Regions from separate parts of the Homo sapiens genome. Here regions 1, 2, 3, 4, 6 and 7 are each linked to region 5. The links are contacts of gene promoters, found by promoter capture Hi-C in blood cells and fetal thymus (Javierre and others, 2016). All regions are on one chromosome and are shown on one strand. Each heading gives the region's core, a stretch centred on a gene start or on the middle of the fragment in contact. The rest is flanking DNA. Distances are from core to core; before and after follow the strand shown. Region 1 has its middle 100 kb from the start of SLC10A2. Region 2 has its middle 71 kb from the start of SLC10A2. Region 3 has its middle 80 kb from the start of SLC10A2. Region 4 has its middle 130 kb from the start of SLC10A2. Region 5 holds the start of EFNB2 (ephrin B2). Region 6 has its middle 83 kb from the start of ERCC5. Region 7 has its middle 66 kb from the start of ERCC5.

Evidence for each region. Contacts are between HindIII fragments. The CHiCAGO score rates a contact against its expected background, and 5 or more counts as called.
Region 1: a fragment that was not itself captured here is called in contact with the fragment with the promoter of EFNB2 in region 5 in 1 of 17 cell types (total B cells); the score reaches 7.3 in total B cells.
Region 2: a contact is called between a fragment that was not itself captured here and the fragment with the promoter of EFNB2 in region 5, in 2 of 17 cell types (total B cells and naive B cells). The highest score is 7.2, in total B cells.
Region 3: a fragment that was not itself captured here is called in contact with the fragment with the promoter of EFNB2 in region 5 in 1 of 17 cell types (naive B cells); the score reaches 7.0 in naive B cells.
Region 4: a fragment that was not itself captured here is called in contact with the fragment with the promoter of EFNB2 in region 5 in 1 of 17 cell types (naive B cells); the score reaches 6.8 in naive B cells.
Region 6: a fragment that was not itself captured here is called in contact with the fragment with the promoter of EFNB2 in region 5 in 10 of 17 cell types (naive B cells, total B cells, naive CD4 T cells and 7 more); the score reaches 20.7 in naive B cells.
Region 7: a fragment that was not itself captured here is called in contact with the fragment with the promoter of EFNB2 in region 5 in 15 of 17 cell types (total B cells, M2 macrophages, M0 macrophages and 12 more); the score reaches 34.6 in total B cells.

The regions. Positions count from the first base shown.
Region 1 is chr13:102,960,789-102,963,793 of GRCh38, reverse strand. No RefSeq gene overlaps it. Among named protein-coding and RNA genes, the nearest start is that of SLC10A2, 100 kb to the left of the region's middle. The HindIII fragment of the contact is 586 bases long and covers 1,321-1,906 here.
Region 2 is chr13:103,136,232-103,138,931 of GRCh38, reverse strand. No RefSeq gene overlaps it. Among named protein-coding and RNA genes, the nearest start is that of SLC10A2, 71 kb to the right of the region's middle. The HindIII fragment of the contact is 6,015 bases long and covers 1-2,700 here.
Region 3 is chr13:102,985,152-102,987,851 of GRCh38, reverse strand. No RefSeq gene overlaps it. Among named protein-coding and RNA genes, the nearest start is that of SLC10A2, 80 kb to the left of the region's middle. The HindIII fragment of the contact is 4,155 bases long and covers 1-2,700 here.
Region 4 is chr13:103,197,721-103,200,729 of GRCh38, reverse strand. No RefSeq gene overlaps it. Among named protein-coding and RNA genes, the nearest start is that of SLC10A2, 130 kb to the right of the region's middle. The HindIII fragment of the contact is 3,739 bases long and covers 1-3,009 here.
Region 5 is chr13:106,534,214-106,536,975 of GRCh38, reverse strand. It overlaps EFNB2 (ephrin B2), which reads left to right and starts at 1,314. Exons shown (of 5, transcript NM_004093.4): 1 at 1,314-2,133. The coding sequence starts at 2,012. RefSeq lists an enhancer at 217-286 and a silencer at 867-1,526. The HindIII fragment of the contact is 2,990 bases long and covers 1-2,762 here.
Region 6 is chr13:102,927,561-102,930,260 of GRCh38, reverse strand. No RefSeq gene overlaps it. Among named protein-coding and RNA genes, the nearest start is that of ERCC5, 83 kb to the right of the region's middle. The HindIII fragment of the contact is 1,773 bases long and covers 424-2,196 here.
Region 7 is chr13:102,910,775-102,913,474 of GRCh38, reverse strand. No RefSeq gene overlaps it. Among named protein-coding and RNA genes, the nearest start is that of ERCC5, 66 kb to the right of the region's middle. The HindIII fragment of the contact is 1,264 bases long and covers 814-2,077 here.

The sequences.
Region 1 (3,005 bases), core at 364-2,863, 3.6 Mb after region 5:
GTCAGTTTAATGTCTGATGTTCAGCTAATGTCTGAGTCATCAAAAGGAGGTAAGCTATGTTCTGTCTCTTACAGTAACCAAGAGACACGTAGATACAACACATTTAAGATTCCCATAATATTTTTTAATATGGCCAATTAACCACTTGAAGGCTAAAACACTGGAATATTCCTCACAGAATTATAGTTTGGAGACCTAGAATATCTAGCCAGAGTTAAACAGCAAGTTAGAAATAAAACCAAAATGGAGCTCAGCGTGGTGGCATGTGCCTGTAATCCCAGCTACTCAGGAGGCTGAGGTGGGAGGATTGCTTGAGCCCAGGAGGTAGAGGCTAGCCTGGGCAATGTCGTGACACCCCATCTTAATAAAAATATTTTTTTAAAAACATGACACTTCAGGTTCTGATATCTGCCTGTAATATTAAAAGGAATGAGAGTTTGAAAACTCGATGGAACCTAAACAATATTTTCATCTCCAGCCTCGCGTTTTGCAGGTAAACTCATTGAGATCTAGAGAGATAAGTGATTTACTCAAGGTCACAATTCAATGATGAGTAGAATCGAGACAAGAATACAGGTTTCTGACCAGCACTCCTCAAAACCATCAAGGTAATCAAGGACAAGGAAAGTCTAAGAAGCCGTCAGAGATCGCAGAAGGCTAAGGAGTCATGATAACTAAATGTAAGTGGTGTTCTGGATGGGGTCCAGGAATGGAGAAAGGACATTTGGGAGAAACTGATGGAATCAGAATATAGTATTGAGCTTCATTAAGAATAATGTACCTATGCTTGTTTCTTACTTGTGACAAATGTATCATGGTGATATAGGATGATTACAATGGGGGACATTGGATGAGAGATATAAGGGAATTCTCCATACCATTGTTACAACTTTTCTGTATGTCCAAAGCTATTTTAAAATAAAAAGCTGATTTAAAACAAAAAGTTCTACTTCTAAATTTCAAAAAAAAAAATACCGTTTTCAAGAATTCTTTCCATCAAAGCATGTTGTCCCTCTTCTAAGATAGTTGAATGAGACTTCCATTCCACAAACTAAAAACTGTCATTCAGTCTCTGTTCATAATAGCCATGCTATTAATATTTGGAATAGCTCCTCCTCCTGCCTGCCTTCATCAAGTAAAAGTAAAGAAATTAGTCAGATTAACCCTCAATAAGCAAATGTACAGCTTTCAATACCTGCAGCAGATATTTTAAGCAACTGTTGCCACATATGTTTCCATTTGAGAGATACAATGGAGGGAAAGTATATCCCACCCTTAGACGGTGGGAACAAGAGTATCAAAGGGAAATGGAGACAAGCTTGTGCACATCTACCTTTTCAACTTTTCAAACATGTATTAAGAACCTGCTATGTGTCAGAACTCTGCCCTCACTTCAAGTATACTAAATCCTTAAATGTAAATGGCTCAGACTCTCAAAAGGGTGACCTCGAGTCTTCTAACAGTGCCCATGAAATTTAATAATTGGGAGGCTAACACCAAATCTCATTTATTGCTGCTTTAAATGAAATAGATCACCATTAATAAAAAGCCTGCAAATTTAAGTAACCCAGCAGTCTTAACTAGCAATTAAAATGACTCTTTTTTTTTTTCAATAAAAGGTGAAACCATATGCTACAGCAGATTTTTTGTCACGTACGAGATAAATGAGCAGTTTGGCTCAGCGGGGAATAATTCCAGTTCATATTGAAGGATCAGTTTCAGTATCAAAATTTCATTCTCTCAATGTCAGGATCCTTGATACCAATTACCTGAAAACACTTGGGCTCAAGAGCCATCCCTGTGAAAACATAAGCACAAGGTACATGCCCTCCTCATCCCTCCCCACACATCCCAATAGAGAGGGGAGAACTGAGAGTCCAGCATTATCAGGGTTGTATTCAAAGCTTAAATTCCAACAAAACCTAACTGTGTCTCGCCCTCCTCACCAGGATTTGTGGGAGTATCCAACCCTGTAACAAACGTATGCAGGGACCAGGAAGCCGACTGGAGAGAAATGTGCATGGCCTCATCTGATCCAAATCGGTGTCATAAGAACATGTTGGAAGAAATCAGATTGGTCCTGGGAAGTGCCAGTCATCTTTTAGGTGGAAAAGGATAGAAGCTCATGAAGCTGGACATAATGTACACGTGATATTAACCCGAGAGCATTCAATACCTTGCAAGCTCAGCTGTTTGGAACACTTCTTCCCAAGTTCTTTGACGTCCCTCAATGTCTTCACCTAAGTAGGTGGAAAGGGGAGTGAGTGGAGATACTGGTAGTGGCATACTTGATGGGAAGACAGAAAATCATTACTGATATCAAAAGACAGAAAAACAAGGTAGAAAGAAAGATAAATGCACTAGGTAGGTAGGTAGGAAGGTAGGTAGGTAGGTAGGTGGGTAGGTAGGTAGGTAGATGGATGGATTGACTGACTGATATGATTTGGCTCTGTGTCCCCGCCCAAATCTCATGTCGAATTGTAATCCCCAGCTTTGGAGGTGGGGCCTGGTGGGAGGTGATTGGATCATGGGGGTGGATTTCCCCTGAGTGCTGTTCTTGTGATAGTGAGTTATCATGAGATCTAGTTGTTTAAAAGTGTGTGGAATCTCCCTGCCCCACTTCCTCCTGCCCCTGCCATGTAAGAACTGCCTGCTTCCCCTTTCCCTTCTACCATGAGTGTAAGTTTCCTGAGGCCTCCCTAGAAGTAGATGCTGCCATGCTTCCTGCACAACCTGCAGAACCGTGAGCCAATTAAATTTCTTTTCCTTATAAATTACCCAATCTCAGGTATTTCTTCACAGCAGTGTGAGAACGGATAGATAGATAGACAGACAGATAGATAGATAGATTTATGCACTATATTTATATCTAAATGGCAGTAGGTGTGGGGTACACAGACGGATGGACCAGTGAATGATCAGAAGGAAAAAAGTGGCAAAGACACACTTTGTAGATAACTACTTTGCTCTGGTCACTGAAGTTTGAGCTTCCTAGGCATTATCTC
Region 2 (2,700 bases), core at 167-2,666, 3.4 Mb after region 5:
CCCTTGGTTGATTTCTCCTTCCCTCTTCCTCTGATCTCACATTGATATTTAATATGAATTTCACACTCAAATCGCAAATCAGAGTTTGTCATTTCACCTCAAATCCTCACTGGGTCTTCCCCATTTCAGTAAATGGCACCACCATCCGTTCACACAGTTAAAGTCAAAAGCCTGGGAATCTTCCTTACCACCCCCTCCGTTTTCTTCACTCCCTGCCTGCAATCCATCAGCAAATCCCATCAGTGCTACTTCTGAAATATACACGGACCTCACCCACTTCTCCCATTTCCACTGTTTCCTGTCTGGTCTAAGGGCCATCCTAGTAGTCTGGACATCCCCAGCCACCTGCCAAGCCTCTCTGCCACTGCTTTTACATCCTGTGATCCAGAGTAATCTTTTACTCTTTTCCAAGTGATGTCAGTACCCTGAATAAAACTCTCCAATGGCTTCCCACCTCACACAGAATAAAATCCAGCTCCACGTCAGGGTCCCATACCCAGCCTCCTCTCCTCCTCCAGGTTTTCCAGAATTCCCTGGACTCACCATGCTTCACTTTTCACATAAGCCCTTCTGTTCTTGAAGTCACAAGGCACATTCCAGCCTCAGGACCCTTGCACATGCAACCCCTCTTGCTGGAACACCAGTCTTCACAGGCTTGGCTTCTCTTTCCATTCAGGTCTCTACTTAAAGGTCACCATTAATTAACAGCTTTCCTAACCACTTTGCCTCAGGTAGAACCGGTCGCCCTCAGCTGTAAGTTGGGTCTCTATCACACCATCCCATTTTCTTCGTATCCCTTTTTGCTATCTGAAATTAACCTTTTTAAAATTTATGTTTTATATTGTTGTGTGTTTTCCTAAACTAAAATATAAACTCAATGAAACCAGGTACCTGGTCTCTTTTAGTCACTTCTGGGTGCCCCCCAGTGCCTGGTATAATGAAGTGTTTAATAAATAATAAATCAATGATAAACCAGGGATAAATGCTGTCTGACTATGATTTGGGGATTCTTGATACATTGAAACAACATTTATAGAGGTAAGAGATTTTGCCCTTAAATTCTGAAACCCTCGTAACCTGGCTAAGGCATATAAAGACCTCTGATTTAAAATTTTAGTTGATCCAGTCTATCATTGTTGGACATTTGGATTAAGCAAATGTGGCACATATACACCATGGAATACTATGCAGCCATAAAAAATGATGAGTTCATGTCCTTTGTAGGGACATGGATGAAATTGGAAATCATCATTCTCAGTAAACTATCGCAAGAACAAAAAACCAAACACCGCATATTCTCACTCACAGGTGGGTATTGAACAATGAGAACACATGGACACAGGAAGGGGAACATCACACTCTGGGGACTGTTGTGGGGTGGGGGGACGGGGGAGGGATAGCTTCAGGAGATATACCTAATGCTAAATGACGAGTTAATGGGTGCAGCACACCAGCATGGCACATGTATACACATGTAACTAACCTGCACATTGTGCACATGTACCCTAAAACTTAAAGTATAATAATAATAAAAGAAAAAAAAAGAAAAATATCCCAATAAAAAAAAATAAATAAAATTGTAGTTGAACTTGCAGGCTGAAGAATTTGGTTTGACATGAAATCTATACAAGGGTGTGTAAACACATTTACATATGATCTCTCCCAGTGACGTTAAATCATTCTTACAAATTTTAAGCACTATTGGCTATTGTTTTGTCATGGAGGGGGTTCATAAAGAACATTAAAAATAGAGTCTAATTTCTCTTTTAAACTAGAAAAAACAAATTTGTGGAAATCACCCAAATATAATACTTCAGCGGGAGACAAGAACACAGGAAAGTTTTAAAACTTGCAATTGCCCACAAGTAAGCACCTAAGAGGCTATTAGCTGCCACCTGGTATCACAACCTCAGTAAGTTTCCAGGCCCACACACTGAGAAACAAAAGGCATTCCGGAGATGTGGCCTCGATCAGAAGAGGTGAGAACAGTTCTTAGTCTTAGCAAGGTGGTCATGGTCATTAGACCAGTATCCTGACCACACCAAGGCTTCCTAAATTCCGGAGATCCCCGGGTTGGTTTGCAAGACCCTCCCTGCCTATGTTTCCATGGAGATTAGGGCTCTTAGGTTAGAATAAGAGGGACTGAGCACTTGCCCCAGGGGAACAAGTTGCAGATACCAGGTGGGGTGGTGACAAGGCTTGCGGGGATGCTATGAGCTTTACAGAGGAAAGAGACTGGCGGCCATCACTCAGGCCTCCAGCAAGAAAGAAAGGGGAGCGTGGGGAGCCAATCTGGGGCTAACAAGCAGTATAAACTCCATTTGCCGTAAAAAGGAGTGTGTGGTTTGTCCACGCTGCTGCACCAGGGTCAAGGCTGTGTTGAGCAGGAGCACAGAAGCACAGTTAGGAGTGTGGGCGGCTAAGCGCTCAGTGCCTGGACAGATGGCTTTAGGGCTCCACGCTGCTGCCCCTCCCTCATGGCTGCAGATTTCAGGGAGTTGTGTGACCTTTCACCGCTCAGCTTTCTCCTCTGTAAATACACGTGCACACCTGTGGTCACTATTTTCTCTTAGGGTTGCTGGAAAAATTAATATTAATAATCCCATTGTAAAAAAGTAATAGAAGACAGCTGTTATTAACAAAAGAGATTAAATTGTAGCTTGTGTGTCTGCTTTCTAGAGTTCTTCTACCCCCATCGTT
Region 3 (2,700 bases), core at 60-2,559, 3.5 Mb after region 5:
CCTGGATGTCCAGGCAGAAGTCTGCTGCAGGGGCAGAGCCCTCATAGAGAACCTCTGCTAGGGCAGTGGGGAAAAGAAATGTAGGATTGGAGTCCCCTAACAGAGTCCCCACTGGGGCACTGCCTAGAGGAGTTGTGAGAAGAGGGCCACTGTCCTCCAGACTCCAGTATGGAAGATCCTCCAAGAGCTTGCACCATGCACCTGGAAAAGCCAAAGACACTCAACACTAGCCAATGAAAGCAGCCAGGAGGGAGGCTGTACCCTGCAAAGCCACAGGGGCAGAGCTTTCCAAGGTCACGGGAGCCCCCCTCTTGCATCAGCGTGACCTGGATGTGAGTCATGGAGTCAAAGGAGATCATTTTGGAACTTTAAGGTTTAATGACTGCCCTATTGGATTTTGGATTTGCATCAGACCTGTAGCCCCTTTGTTTTGGCCAATTTCTCCCATCTGGAAAGGGTGTATTTACCCAATGCCTGTACCACCATTGTATCTAGGAAGTAACTAACTTCCTTTTGATTTTACAGGCTCATAGGCAGAAGGGACCTGTCTTGTCTCAGCTGAGATTTTGGACTTGGACTTTGGGTTAATGCTAGAATAAGCTAAGACTTTGGGGGACCGTTGGAAAGGCATGATTGTGTTTTGAAATGTGAGGGCATGAGATTTGGGAGGGGCCAGGGACGGTATGATATGGTTTGGCTGTGTGCCCACTCAAATCTCATCTTGAATTATAGTTCCCATAATCCCCACATGTGGTAGGAGGCAACTGGTGGGAGATAAATGAATCATGGAGGCAGTTTCCCTCATGCTATACTCATGATAGTAAGCTCTCAGAAGATTTGATGGCTTTATAAGGGACTTCCCCCTTCATTCATCTTTCATTCTTTTCCTTCCTGCCAAGTGAAGAAGGATGTGTTTGCTTCCTCTTCTGCCATGACTGTAAGTTTCCTGAGGCCTCCCCCGCCCTGCACAACTGTCAGTCAATTAAACCTCTTTCCTTTATAAATTACTCAGTCTCAGGCAGTTCTTTACAGCAGTGTGAGAGCAGACTAACACACTTAGCCAAAGGCAAATACAAGCAGAGAAACTCAGATGGAGAGTAGACCAAGACACCCGCTAAATTTCAAAGTCTCTTACAATCTTTTATACAACCTTATGAGACTCTTATGGCAAAAATATTACTTAAACATTGAATATGTCCAAAGGAAATTTACTTGTTGTTGAACATTTTCCCAAGGTTTTCTCAATATTAAAAAATGCCCATTGTGGTAGGTTGGATAAAGAAAATGTGGTACATACACACCATGGAATACTATGCAGCCATTAAAAAAGAATGAGATCATGTTCTTTGCAGGAACACAGTTGGAGATGGAGGCCATTAACCTTAGCAAACTAACGTAGGAACATAAAATCAAATACTGCATGTTCTCACTTAAAAGTAGAAGCTATATGATGAGAACACATGGACGTATACAGGAGAAGAGTACACAATGAGGCCTATTGGAGAGTAGAGGATGGAAGCTGGGAAGAGGGAAAGGATCAGGAAATATAACTGTTGGGTACTAGCCTTAGTACCTGGGTAATGAAATAATCTGCATAACAAATCCTCGTAACATGAGTTTACCTATACAACAAACCTACACATGTACCCCTAAACCTAAAATAAAAATTTTTTTTTTAAATTATTCTTCCAATCTCTGGAAATTGATTCAGTTCTAACCTTGCCCCAGAAATATAAATCTAGCTAAGAATAGGGCTTGACAATATGGTTTCTTGAAAAGTACTCCTCTACGTGGTAACTTACAACACCAGAAATCTAATGCAGGGCTTCTGTGTGCCAGGGAAGCTGCCACAGTATCGCATCAACATCACACTGAGTCATCGTCCGCAGTGATGGATGCACATAATCATAGTGCTCTTACAAAGACTATCTAATTTAATGCTGATGGAGTCACTGTATTGAGCAGTGAGATCTCTCCACTCAAAACATCTATGCTTGTTAAGTTTCACTAATGAATAATTTCGGACTGGACTAGGGAGGGTCCAGTCTTTCAGCACAGAAAGACTAAACTGCCTGACCTTCCCTAATCCAGCATTTGCCCCTGGATTAAAGGTGAACATCTGCTTTGGAAAATCAGAGCCTATTTCTCCTTAAGGGAGGCAAACCAAAGTTCCAGTTTAGAGTGTAAACTGGGATTGTCTCTGTTGGGCTGGGCGTAAACAATGAACCAGGGCTCTGATGCAGCAAAGCCCCCACTTGGGGACTTCACCAGATAACTGTCAGTTGGCAGGACGACGGTCAGAGGAACCTAGCTTAGTGCAAGCCTGGACTTGAAAGCCTGGACTTGAAAGTGATGGTGAGGTCAAGAATCGAGACCATCCTGGCCAACATGGTGAAAGCCTGTCTGCATTAAAAATACAAAAATTAGCCGGGTGTGGTGGCATGTGCCTACAGTCCCAGCTACTCAGGAAGCTGAGGCAGGAGAATCGCTTGAAGCTGGGAGGCGGAGTGAGCCGAGATCCCGCCGCTGCACTCCAGCCTGGCGACAGAGTAAGGCTCTGTCTCAAAAAAAAAAAAAAAAAAATGTGGGCCGCGCGGCGTGGTGGCTCACGCCTGTAATCCCAGCACTTTGGGAGGCCCAGGCAGGCGGATCACGAGGTCAGGAGATGGTAGCCATCCTGGCTAACATGGTGAAACCCCA
Region 4 (3,009 bases), core at 338-2,837, 3.3 Mb after region 5:
AAGACCCTCACCTTCTAATCCCTGGAATCTGTGAATGTGTTAGATTACATTGCAATGGGAATTCGAACTTCAGATTGAATTAAGGTTGCTAATCAGATGACCTTAAGATAGTGAGCTTATCTTGCATTATCCAGGTGGCCCAAGGTAATCCCAAGGATCCTTAAAAGTGGAATAGAAAGGCAGATAAAGAGAGTCTGAAGATGTGGCAAGGGAAACAGAAATGTTATCTTGCTAACTTTGAAGATGGAGCAAAAAGCCATGAACCAAGAAATGTGGGTGACCTCCAAAAGCTGAAAAAAGCAAAGAAACAAATTCTCCCCAACTCCCCAGAGGGAATGCAGCCCTGCCCACACATTAGTTTTAGCTCAGTAAGATTCCTACTGGCCTTCTAGCCTGCTGGAAGATAATAAAGTTGTACTCTCTTGAGCTACCCTACTGTGTTTGTAGTAACTTGTTACTGCAGCAATATAAAACTAATACACCCTGTATCCAAGTAAAACTGCATTATGATTCCACTTAATATGAGATCTGAAGAGATTGCTCTAGCTACTGTTGGTGATTAAAACCATAAGCATTCAAAGTAGACAAACACTAATTCATATCCTAATGTGGGCCATTTAATGGTGTGAAGAGTAAATTATTTACTCTCCAACCCTCAACTTCATCATCCATTAAATAAAGTGAGAATCTACCTCATAGATTGTTGTGAGGATTTAAAAAATTAAGTTTTCCAGTCCAGTAAAAATGTGTTTCACACTCATACATGCCAAAATATTTGATAACGGGAAGTTACGCAACAATTTAAAATACTAGTTAGAGCTTCTATTACATGTTGGAGCTATAACAATGAACAAGGCAGACACCTAAAAATAACCATCTGGCAGTAATATCCTATGATAAGCCCTTGATGAGAGTACACAAAGCTCTGTTACCACATAGAGGGGACTTTGGCTGGATTTAGGGGTCAGATAACCCTTCTTAGTGGAAGTAAATTCTAAATGGAGGCCTAAACAATAAAGAGAAAGTAGACAAAAATGGGTGGAGGAATAGTGATAGCAACAGGAGACAGACAAATGCCTAGGCAGACAGGGACAGGTCTCTGGTCAAACCCGACCTTCAAGCCAAGGACAGTTTAAAGCCTGAAAACTGAGCTGCCAGTTCTCCATACAGTCCAAAACTGGAGTGAGAACTTCCATCCCTTCTTGCCCACTCTCTCTTGATTGGTTCCCTGTAATGATACCTTTTAACTAATCTAATGGTGCCTTTTCCAAGGCCACCCATGGACCAATCAGCACACACTCCTCCATTCTAAGCCCATAAAAACCCCAGACTCAGCCTCACAGATTGCTACCAGCTTTTGGGTCCCCTCTCAACACTGAGAACTTTCTTTCTGTTGCTTAATAAAATTCTCCTCTGACTTACTCACTCTCTGGTGTCCACATACCTTATTCCTCTTGGTCACAGCACAAGAACCTGGAACTAGCTGAACTATGAAATGAAACAGCTATAGTACTCCTGCTCACGAAGCTGCAGGTGGAGGGAATAAAAGAGCTGTAACACTCCCTCCTGCTCACTGAACAATGAGAGAAGCAGCCACTGGGTGCCACTCCCTCCCGCTTGCCCATCTACAGAGTGAAAAAGCTGCCACAATAGTGGAAGTGCATTTTAGATAGAGAAAGCAATATGATGAAGAGCATGGTAGCTTGGCACTCAAGGGAATTGAAAATAACAATAAAACAGGTGCATTTATGAAGAAAGCAAAGACCAAAACATGAAGTGTCTTTTATTATTATAGCCATGTGGGTTTATTGCAAAGTTTTAAGTGAAGAACAGATACTGATCATATTTGTATTCTAGAAAGAGCATTCTAGCCACAGGTTAAAAAACAAATTTGAAAACCTAGAAGGATGTAAAGGCAATAGAAACCAATTGGGAAACTGTTGTTACAATGCAAACAAACTACTTACTATTATTACTTTTGTCATCAAGCATATAAGAAACAGGAATGAATATGAAAGAATAAAATGAGATGAGCACATAAAAGCAAATCCACCTACATGTGTTTTATCTCAAAAAATCATTGTGCAGCTGCACAGAATAACAAGTGTAGAGAGACAAGAAGAGTCTATCTACCATTTACAGGCAAGGGAGCAGGGCAGGATGAAGGGCACGGTGTGGTACAGGGCAAGATCTCAGACCCGACAAAAGATGAGACCATCCTGGTTAATTGTAAACTCTAAGTCTTACATTACTGAGTTCTCCCAGGAGAATTCTAATGGAAAGTAGACAACTACTGGGTCTCAACAAGGTTACCTGTTCTTCCATAAGGCTCATCTAGGTCATCAGCTTACTCCAGTCTCTGTCATCTTTGTAATATCATTCAACTTAAGCCAAGGCTTGGAGAGGCAAAGCCTATTAATGCTGTATGTGTATGTGGTAGGTAGAATGATGCTCCTATCCCCTGCAAGATGCTCATCATCTAATCCCTGGAACCTGTGAATGTGTTAGATTACATGAATAAGGAATTAGGACTACAGATTGAATTACGGTTGCTAATCAGATGATTAGATGCAGGATGTGATTGATCACAAAAACATTCCTGGAGAAATTTTGGCCTCATAGGAGACAGAGCCATCTTAGGAAATATCACTCACTCAAACCCACAAATACCTCAAAACCCTGCCTTATTCTGAGCCAATGTGGAAGAGTGAAGGCTCTGTCTCACTGGGCCTCTCTTCACACACAGTAACCTAAGACCTAGTGGGAAAATGATTGTGATGGATGAAGGATCCAGGAGAGGCAATAGAAGCTATGCATGTCCAAGTGCCCAGAAGAATGGGAGCAGGAAGAGATAGGACCAGGGCATTGCACATGACGATGCAGGGTTTGCCAGACTGCCTATGCAGGAAATTTGGCAGAAAAAGTCCTCAGACTTCCAACAAGAAAACCTTGATGCATCAGTGCAACCTTTCTACATTTGTAGAAATGAAAAAGAACAAGTTATTTACA
Region 5 (2,762 bases), core at 65-2,564:
AGAGTGAAAGAAAACAAGGTGTTTTACCATATGCATTTTTAAATTTAGCGTAGTGGATACTTTGTTTTAAAAATACATAATTTGTAGAATTACTGCCCAGTTTGTGTTTGAAACATAAATCCTGGGGTGGACGGCATTAAATTGAAAAAAAACGTGGGCATACAGTATATTTTAATTTTTCATACTGAATCGTACATTTGCACTGTGCCTTATTTCTACCGTGTTCTTCCTACTGTTGGACATATAAAAAGATTTTCCTTGGAACTGTGACTTGATTAGATGCTGCAGTATGCTGGATCCGGGTCGGTGGACCGCAGAGCGCTCGAGATGCGGAGAAGCAAAGCTGGCCGCTAGTGGGCGCTGTGGCTCCGTGGAAGTCACGGACGAGCGTCAGCACCGGCGCTCGACCGGGAAAGTAGCGAGGAGTTCCTGCCAGCTCTGCTCTGGGGTCTTGCAGACGCCGAGTGAGAAGCACATGCCTTGACTTTTCCATCTCACACCCTCTAAATCTCTGGTCACTTTGGGAAGCGCGCGTGTCTCCTAGAGGCTAGTGAGACGGTCCCCGCGTCGTGCCTGTGCCGGCGACACGCGGGGAAAGCTCCAGGGGCGCCACCTTCCCGGGGGGCCAGGAGGGAAGGGAGACGCCCGCAGAGAAGGCGGGAGGCGACGATGCTCAGGCCCTGATTAGAGCTGCAAATTCCGGCGCCGCGTCGCAGGAATCGTCTTGCAATTCCCGGCCCCACTGACTGAAACTGAGCCGTAGGCGATTGGTACCAAAATCAAGTGAGAAGCCCTCGCCGAGAGGCGTCGGGAGAAGCGCGCAGAAGCCGGGAGCTCTAAGGGTGCGCGCGGAGTGCAAGTCTTGCACGCGGGGCAGCGCCGCATCTGCGGAGAAGGGACGCCGAGCGGAGCCTGCTGCCTTCCGCACTGCTCGAGGGAAAGCCGCGCCCTCTGATTCCGCCGAGGGGGAAGGCGCCCCCGGGCGCGGAGACAGGTGGCCCGCTACTCGGCCGTCGCTGTTTCCACGTCTGCACCGCGCCCAGAAGGCCTCTCGCCGCCCCGGGGGCGCCCTGTGCACGCGCTGAGCGCTTCTCCTGCCCGGCTTCTGCTCCGCTCCCGCCGCCCGCGGGAGCCAGGGGCGGGGCTCACCTGTCAGCCCGAGCCCCGCCTCGCGGCACCCAATGTCGGGAGGGGATGGCGGACGGACGGACCGGCCGTCCAACCAGCGCGCGGCCGCGGAGCCGCGGGCCAATGGGCTTCGCGCGGCGGGGCGGGGCCCCGCGTTTATAGCGCTCTGACAGCGCGGCGGCCGCGCTGACTCTCCTCGGCGGGGACCGCGGCGCCGGCCGGAGCGAGGAGCTGCGCACGCAGCGGGTCCCGGCGCCCTCCCCGCACACAAAGGCCCGCGCGCGTCCGGAGCCCGCGGCGGGGACCGAGCTCCCTCTTTCCTGCCCTGGGGGCCGGGAGCCGCGCGGACTGAGAAGGCTCCTGCGCGCCCGGAGGCGCCCTACTCCGCTCCGTGCTCCGGGACATGGAACCGCGCCGACGCGGCGCCCGCGCGCTCGGGCCGCTGCCCGCTGCACTGGATCTATAGTCACAGGCGGCCCCGCTCGGGGCGCAGCGCCCGCCGCCCGCGCCGGTCGTCTCCGCTCCGGGTCTTTGTGTCCCAGCCCGCACCCGCCCCGCGCCCACCCGCCAGCCGCGGCCGGCCCGGCACCCTGGAGCCGCACGGGAGTCGGCCGTCCGAGCTGCGTCCGGCGCGGCGCCCCGGAACCCCGAGTCCGCCGCGCCGCCGCGCCCCGCGCGTGCGCTCCCGCCCCGCGCCCTGAGGGCCCCGGAGAGCGAGCGCACCTGGCCCGGCGACCGCTGGAGCTGCGCAGCGCGCCTCGGAGCTGCCTGCGGGCGCACGCCGTCTTCCCCGCCAGTCTGCCCCGGAGGATTGGGGGTCCCAGCCTGCGTCCCGTCAGTCCCTTCTTGGCCCGGAGTGCGCGGAGCTGGGAGTGGCTTCGCCATGGCTGTGAGAAGGGACTCCGTGTGGAAGTACTGCTGGGGTGTTTTGATGGTTTTATGCAGAACTGCGATTTCCAAATCGATAGTTTTAGAGCCTATCTATTGGAATTCCTCGAACTCCAAGTAAGTGGCGTCCGCGATCCCCCTATGTCCCCGCCCCGGGGTCCGCCGCGCCGTCCGGGCGGGAGGAGGGGTCAGTCCGCGGGGCCTCGGAGCCTGTTTCTGGAACCTCGGTTCCCCGTCCCCCACCCCCAACCCCCGCCCCATTTCACTAGGTGGAGACTCCTCGCTCGGCTTTCCAACCCGAGCCCCGCTGGAACGGACGGTCTCTCCGCCTTTCCTCCCCCGAACGCTCCCAGGCGCTAAAAGCTACTATCGGCTCGGGTGTCAAGTCCGGGAAGGTGTCCGATGGCGATACCTGACCCTCTCCTGTTTTCGAGGACGAAGGACATGGCCACAATCTAGGCTGGCCGGCACGCGGGGACTGGTGGGCTCTGGAGAGAGGCGGAGATGCTGCATTCGCGGGGAGCGCGGGCGGCGTGGTCCGGGGCCCGCGGGCGGGCGACCGGGGTGGCAGGACGCTGGCAGCGAAGCGCGTTCTGGAGAGGGGAGCCTGGAGTCGCTACGCTGCCCGCAGAGCCCTGGAGCCGGGGCGCCTTGGCACCGCGCCGCCAGCCCGAGGGTGCGCGGGGAGCTCGCCTGCTTCGCAGGAGAACTCGGGCGTCGAGCCCTTTCCTCCGCGCCGGGGAGAC
Region 6 (2,700 bases), core at 61-2,560, 3.6 Mb after region 5:
GGCTGAGGCAGGAGAATGGCATGAACCCAGGAGGCGGAGCTTGCAGCGAGCCAAGATCGCGCCACTGCACTCCGGCCTGAGCAATGGAGCGAGACTCCGTCTCAAAATAAAAAAAAAAAAAGAGTGGAAAAGGTAGGATTTGAGCAGTTGTGTTTAAAAATTCACATCAATGGAGAAGAGTGAAGAGGTGTTCTAGATGGATGATAGTAGTATGGACAAATCCTGAAGACAGGAACTGCATGTGTCTTCAAGAAACAGCCAGTACACTTGCTTCAGAGTCAAGGGTTTGCTTTGGGAAGAATGAGGTAGGTTGGGGCCAGATAGTCAAGATCCTTGAATGTCAGCCTAAGGGGTTTGCAATTTATTAACAATAAGAAGTCATTAAAGGCCTTTGATACAATGAAAATTACATTTCAGGAAGCTTTATTTGAAAGTGAAGAAGAGATCTATATGGGCAGGATGAGCTGTGCAAACTGGAAAATGAGAAGTCTATGTTCCTGGGCCAAACCTCTCCCTTTGGTGCCATATGGTGACTTGGTCTCAGAAGGGGAAATCCAAGCAAAGGGAAAAGGAAGAAAACCGCCCTCCACCGATCTCCTCCTCTCCCCACCTCCCAGGGCTAATCCAACCACATCCCCGAGAACAAGCATTCCCCGGAGAAGCCCAAGTCCACAAGGAGGTCGGGCTTTGTGCCCGTCTCCTTCACTTGCATTCCCCCTCTTGTTCACCTACTGAAGAAGCACAGCTAGATGAAGAAACGCCTTTCCTTTTAAGGGAAGTGGTTTCTCCTTAACTGATGAGAGCCCTTTAAGACCAGTAAGTCTCTACCTGGAGTAGGGCCAATTTAATATATCTGAATTGCCCTAGATAAAATGTCTCATCTGCAGAGATCCTTATCAAAGCCAGTAATTTCTCTGTGTATTCTTCATAGTATGTCCAGCCCTATTGAAATTTTCTCCCACCTGTTGTCAACTTTTAAGTTCAGAATTCCGCCTAGCACCAGATCAGACTTGCCAGTCTCATTCCAAGCACAGCTCACCCAGTCCTTTTTCCAGCTGAACCTGTCTACCTGTGCTGACCTCAGCTTGCTTGATCTTCGCTTGTCTCTAGCAGTGCTGTATCCAGTGGCCACTGTGTTTCTGACTCACATTCTCATAGGGATATTGCCCCCTAAGGAAGCTGGAGAGGGGGTTACAGCCGGTCACCAGGTGGTGAGGGTCTGAAACACATGAGAACAATGGAAGAAAAAAGGAGGCACTAAATAAAACAGGCCTGATTTCTGCTGCTGTGTCATAGCAAAAGGGCTGCATGGCCAAGTCACTCCAGAAAACAACACAGTACACAGATCATTCCCATGGTGTCCTGAGATAGTCAGAAATGAGTCTGTGAAATTGAACCTTAAAATGTCTTTATGGCACTGGTCCTAAAGCCTAGAAACTGATAGTAATTATTTACACAGGCAAAGAGATGGAATGAAAAACAGACTTCTTTGCCTCTCTTCTTTCAAAGTGATTAACATTGGGTCACTGAAGAAAAACTCAGAATACTGGCTCTCAAGAATTCTTCATGACCAACTCCAGGTTCCATCTTGTTTATTTCCTGGGATATATATTTGAAAGTTCTGTATCATCATCTATTTTATAAAATATTGACATGCTAAATGAAGATGAGAGAAGGCAAAAAACAGAAACATGGGAATGTTAGTGGAATGCAATAAAAGATAACATAGGTACTGAGGTCATTTGTCCTTTCAACCCCATATTTAAAATACTACCACATAAAAATAAGATCTCTACAAGCACACTCAACCAAAAGTCTGGAGGCCAAGGTGGGCAGGTAACGAGGTCAGGAGTTCCAGACCAGTCTTGCCAACATAGTGAAACCCCATCTCCACTAAAAATACAAAAAATTAGCCAGGTGTGGTGGTGTGCACTTGTAATCCTAGCTACTCAGGAGGCTGAGGCAGGAGAATCGCGTGAACCCAGGAGGCAGAGGTTGCAGTGAGCTGAGATCGCGCCACTGGACTCCAGCCCAGGCAACAGTGCAAGACTCTGTCTCAAAAAAACAAAGAAACAAAAAGTCCTGAAAACAGAGACGTGTTTGATAGTCATATACAAGGATATGTAATGGAAGGTCTGAGTTCTTTTAGCAAACATTAACTAAGCATGTTTCACATTTCTGAGACTTACTAAAGCTTAAGGAGACTAAGATTTTTTAAATTTTTTCAACAATAGTAACAATTCAAGAAACAAGTGCGATAGACACAAAATGCTATGGGAACACACAGGAATGATACCTGATGTAGAAACAGAGACAGAGAAGAAAGATTTCCTAGGGCAGTGACCTCAAGTTGGGATGTTGAGGAGGAGGAGGAATGAACCCTGCAGGAAGCCCAGTGCTGCAGGAGGAAATTAAACACATGCAAAGCTCCTCACTGAGATGAGCAGGACACACAGGGAGCTGTACACAGTTCCAATGAGGGTTCCAGGGTTCAAGGAAGGGAGTGATAAGAGGAGAATCGAGAATACAAAGGCAAGGGCCAGATAACAGAAGACTTTGTGTGCCACGTTAAGGATTTCGGATTTCATCTGGAAGGCAAGGGGAAGCTGTTCAGGGGTTTTCCGAGGGAACTGACATTATCAGATTTGTGGGTGAGAACCCTCACCTTGGTGTCCCATCTGGGGACAAGCTGGAGTGGGG
Region 7 (2,700 bases), core at 196-2,695, 3.6 Mb after region 5:
TCATCACTGAAAGGCTAGACGAGGTATAGACTTTATAGCAACTAACTGAGTTCATTCCACTCAGCTCAATGGATGCTCTTTTCTGGAGACCTAGAGCAAAATGAAAAATATATGACATTAGCCAGAAAAGTGACACACTTTCATTTATTCAATTGACAAACATTTATTGACACCTGTGACATGCCAGGCCCAATGCAAGGCAATTGTACACAAAATGAAAAACATAGACTCTGCCTCATAAAGTTTAGTTTAGTTGAAAAGGCAGAGATCAGAACACATAAAGAAAGACAAAGAGATGTGAAATAGCCATCCTAGACTACATCATGGAGAGTACAGAGCAGGAGGCTGCCTGCTCTGGGAATTTATAGAGGAGGAACATTTGAGCTGGGTCTTTGTAGATAAGCAGGGAACCGAAATGGGAAAGAGATGGGTATTCCAGGCTCAGAGAGTGATGGCAAAGCAGAGAATGGCTCTGATGAAGAATGGGCTTGAGGGAGAGGAAGTCACTAAGCATCATGTTGATAGGGAAATGGGATGGGGTGGAGAAGAAAGGAGGTAGAGAGGGTGGAAGGAGAAGGAAAGAAAAAGGATGGAGACTAAGAGAGCTTGGCCTGTGATCGTTTGGCCAAGGGCCTGCGTTCTACCTGGAATACAGGTTTGGACTCTAACCTAAGGCAACAGGGCACCACAAACAAGTTTTAACCAGGACAGTGGCAAGCTCAGATTGTCTAGGAAGACAATGTAATTAACCTGGTCCACAAAGCAGTGTCCCTTTCGTTCCCCATTCATTCCTTGAGTGTGCTTCTGGAAGCTTTGCCTAAATGAATGTTTCCAAATGATACTAAAAGACTTTAAAAAAAGTTAAAAAGACAGTGTATGGAAGTTGTTGGTCAAGGGATGAAAAATTTCAGTTAGGAGGAATAAGTTCAAGAGATCTATTGTACAACATGGTGACTGTAGCTAATAGTGTATTGTATCCTTGAAAATTGCTGAGAGAGTAGATTTTAAGTGTTCTCATCACAATAATTTGATAAGTATGTGCGGGAATGCATATGTTAATTATCTTGATTTAGCTGTTCCACAAGTATACATATTTCAAAACATGCTATACATGATAAACATATACTTTGTCAATTAAATATATGTATATATATAATTTTTTTAATAACACTGTGAGAAATGGGTTGGAGCAGAAGAAAAATAAAGTCAGGAGACTGTTTGATAGCTATTGTAAGGGCAAAGTTTAGGAGGTAAAATTGATAACCCTTGATGATGAAATAATTCAAAAGCTAAAAGGAAACATGGACTTGATAATAATGGAGGTGTTTCCAGCCAGGACATCTGAGTGGTTGAAATGCTTCTTGAAAGACTAGAACCTCTACTTTTAACTCCAGAAAAGAGACACTTGGCCATCAAAATAGTCTCAAAATTGTCATCACTATGTTGAACTATTGTATCTTAAAGGCAGGAACAAATGGCATGTTTCCGATCTGTGTCAGAAAATAGCAAAAAATACTTTAATACAGAGGAGCCTCACAGAGATCAAGGAAACTATGACCTTAAAATATTATCATTTCTCAAAGGTCTAGTTTGTGTTTTCGGTGCCTTTGGTGAACGAGAAAGCAAAGGCTACCTTGGAATTAAGGATGAAAAATCATTTCAGTGATAAAGCTCCACATTCATTCACTCCTAACTTCCAGGTTTTAAATGCAATCTTGATTTTATCTCACCTAAGAACAAGAGTGTGCATTTGGTTTTCTTATTAAAGTTTGACTCAAAAAGCTGTGCAACTACTCAAGGTCCAGAGACAAAGAACAATGATGGAAAGGTGAAGCACATTTCACAGGAATGTGAGATGGCAGGTCTGAGCTAGCAGCGGCCCCTCCCTCCGCCTCGGCCTTGCAGATATTTGCCTCCTCTGCCGCAGGCCTCGGGGATCCAGGCCTGTACATTATTCATTTTGCCTTTGGCACCTGGAGCACACCTTTCAACCGCATGGACAGATGGATGGACATAGCTATGCTAGTAGTCACTTCCCCACTGCAAAATGCACCTGAAAACCACATCTTCCCAAGCTTTCCCTCAGGCATTTTAAATACTCAAAACCTGGTAAATTTTTCAATTTTACACCAAAGTGAACAAGTACCCTACTGTGCAGGAGTTTTACTCAACTCCAAAAGGAGAAAGTATTTTTTAAAAGTTATAAGCAGCTTAAATACGGTTTTGCACAATAAGCTGTTTCATTTGGCTTTTTATCTGTATCAAAACTAGACAGTAAAATGTTTACTGCTTCCTAACTAGATCTGGCAAAGGTTTTATTCTATGTCCTTACTTTGTATTTTCTCTCAGAAATCTCAGGAAATTAAGGATAAAATGAGTATTAACAATGTTTATGTTACAAATGTAAACACAGGAAAGTCAAGAAGCCTTTTAAACATTCCTGGTTTTTTTCTTTTTTTTTTTTTTTTGAGACAGGGTCCTATTCTGTCACCCAGGCTGCTATGCAGTGGCATGATCATAGCTCACTGTTGCCTCGACCTCCTGGGCTCAAGCCATCCTCCCGCCTCAGCCTCCCAATAGTTGGGACTACAGGCATGCACCACCACATGCAGCTAATATTTTAAAATTTTTTGTGAAGACAGGGTCTCCCTGTGTTGCCCAGGCTGGTCCTGAAGCTCCTCGGCTCAGGTGATCCTCCCA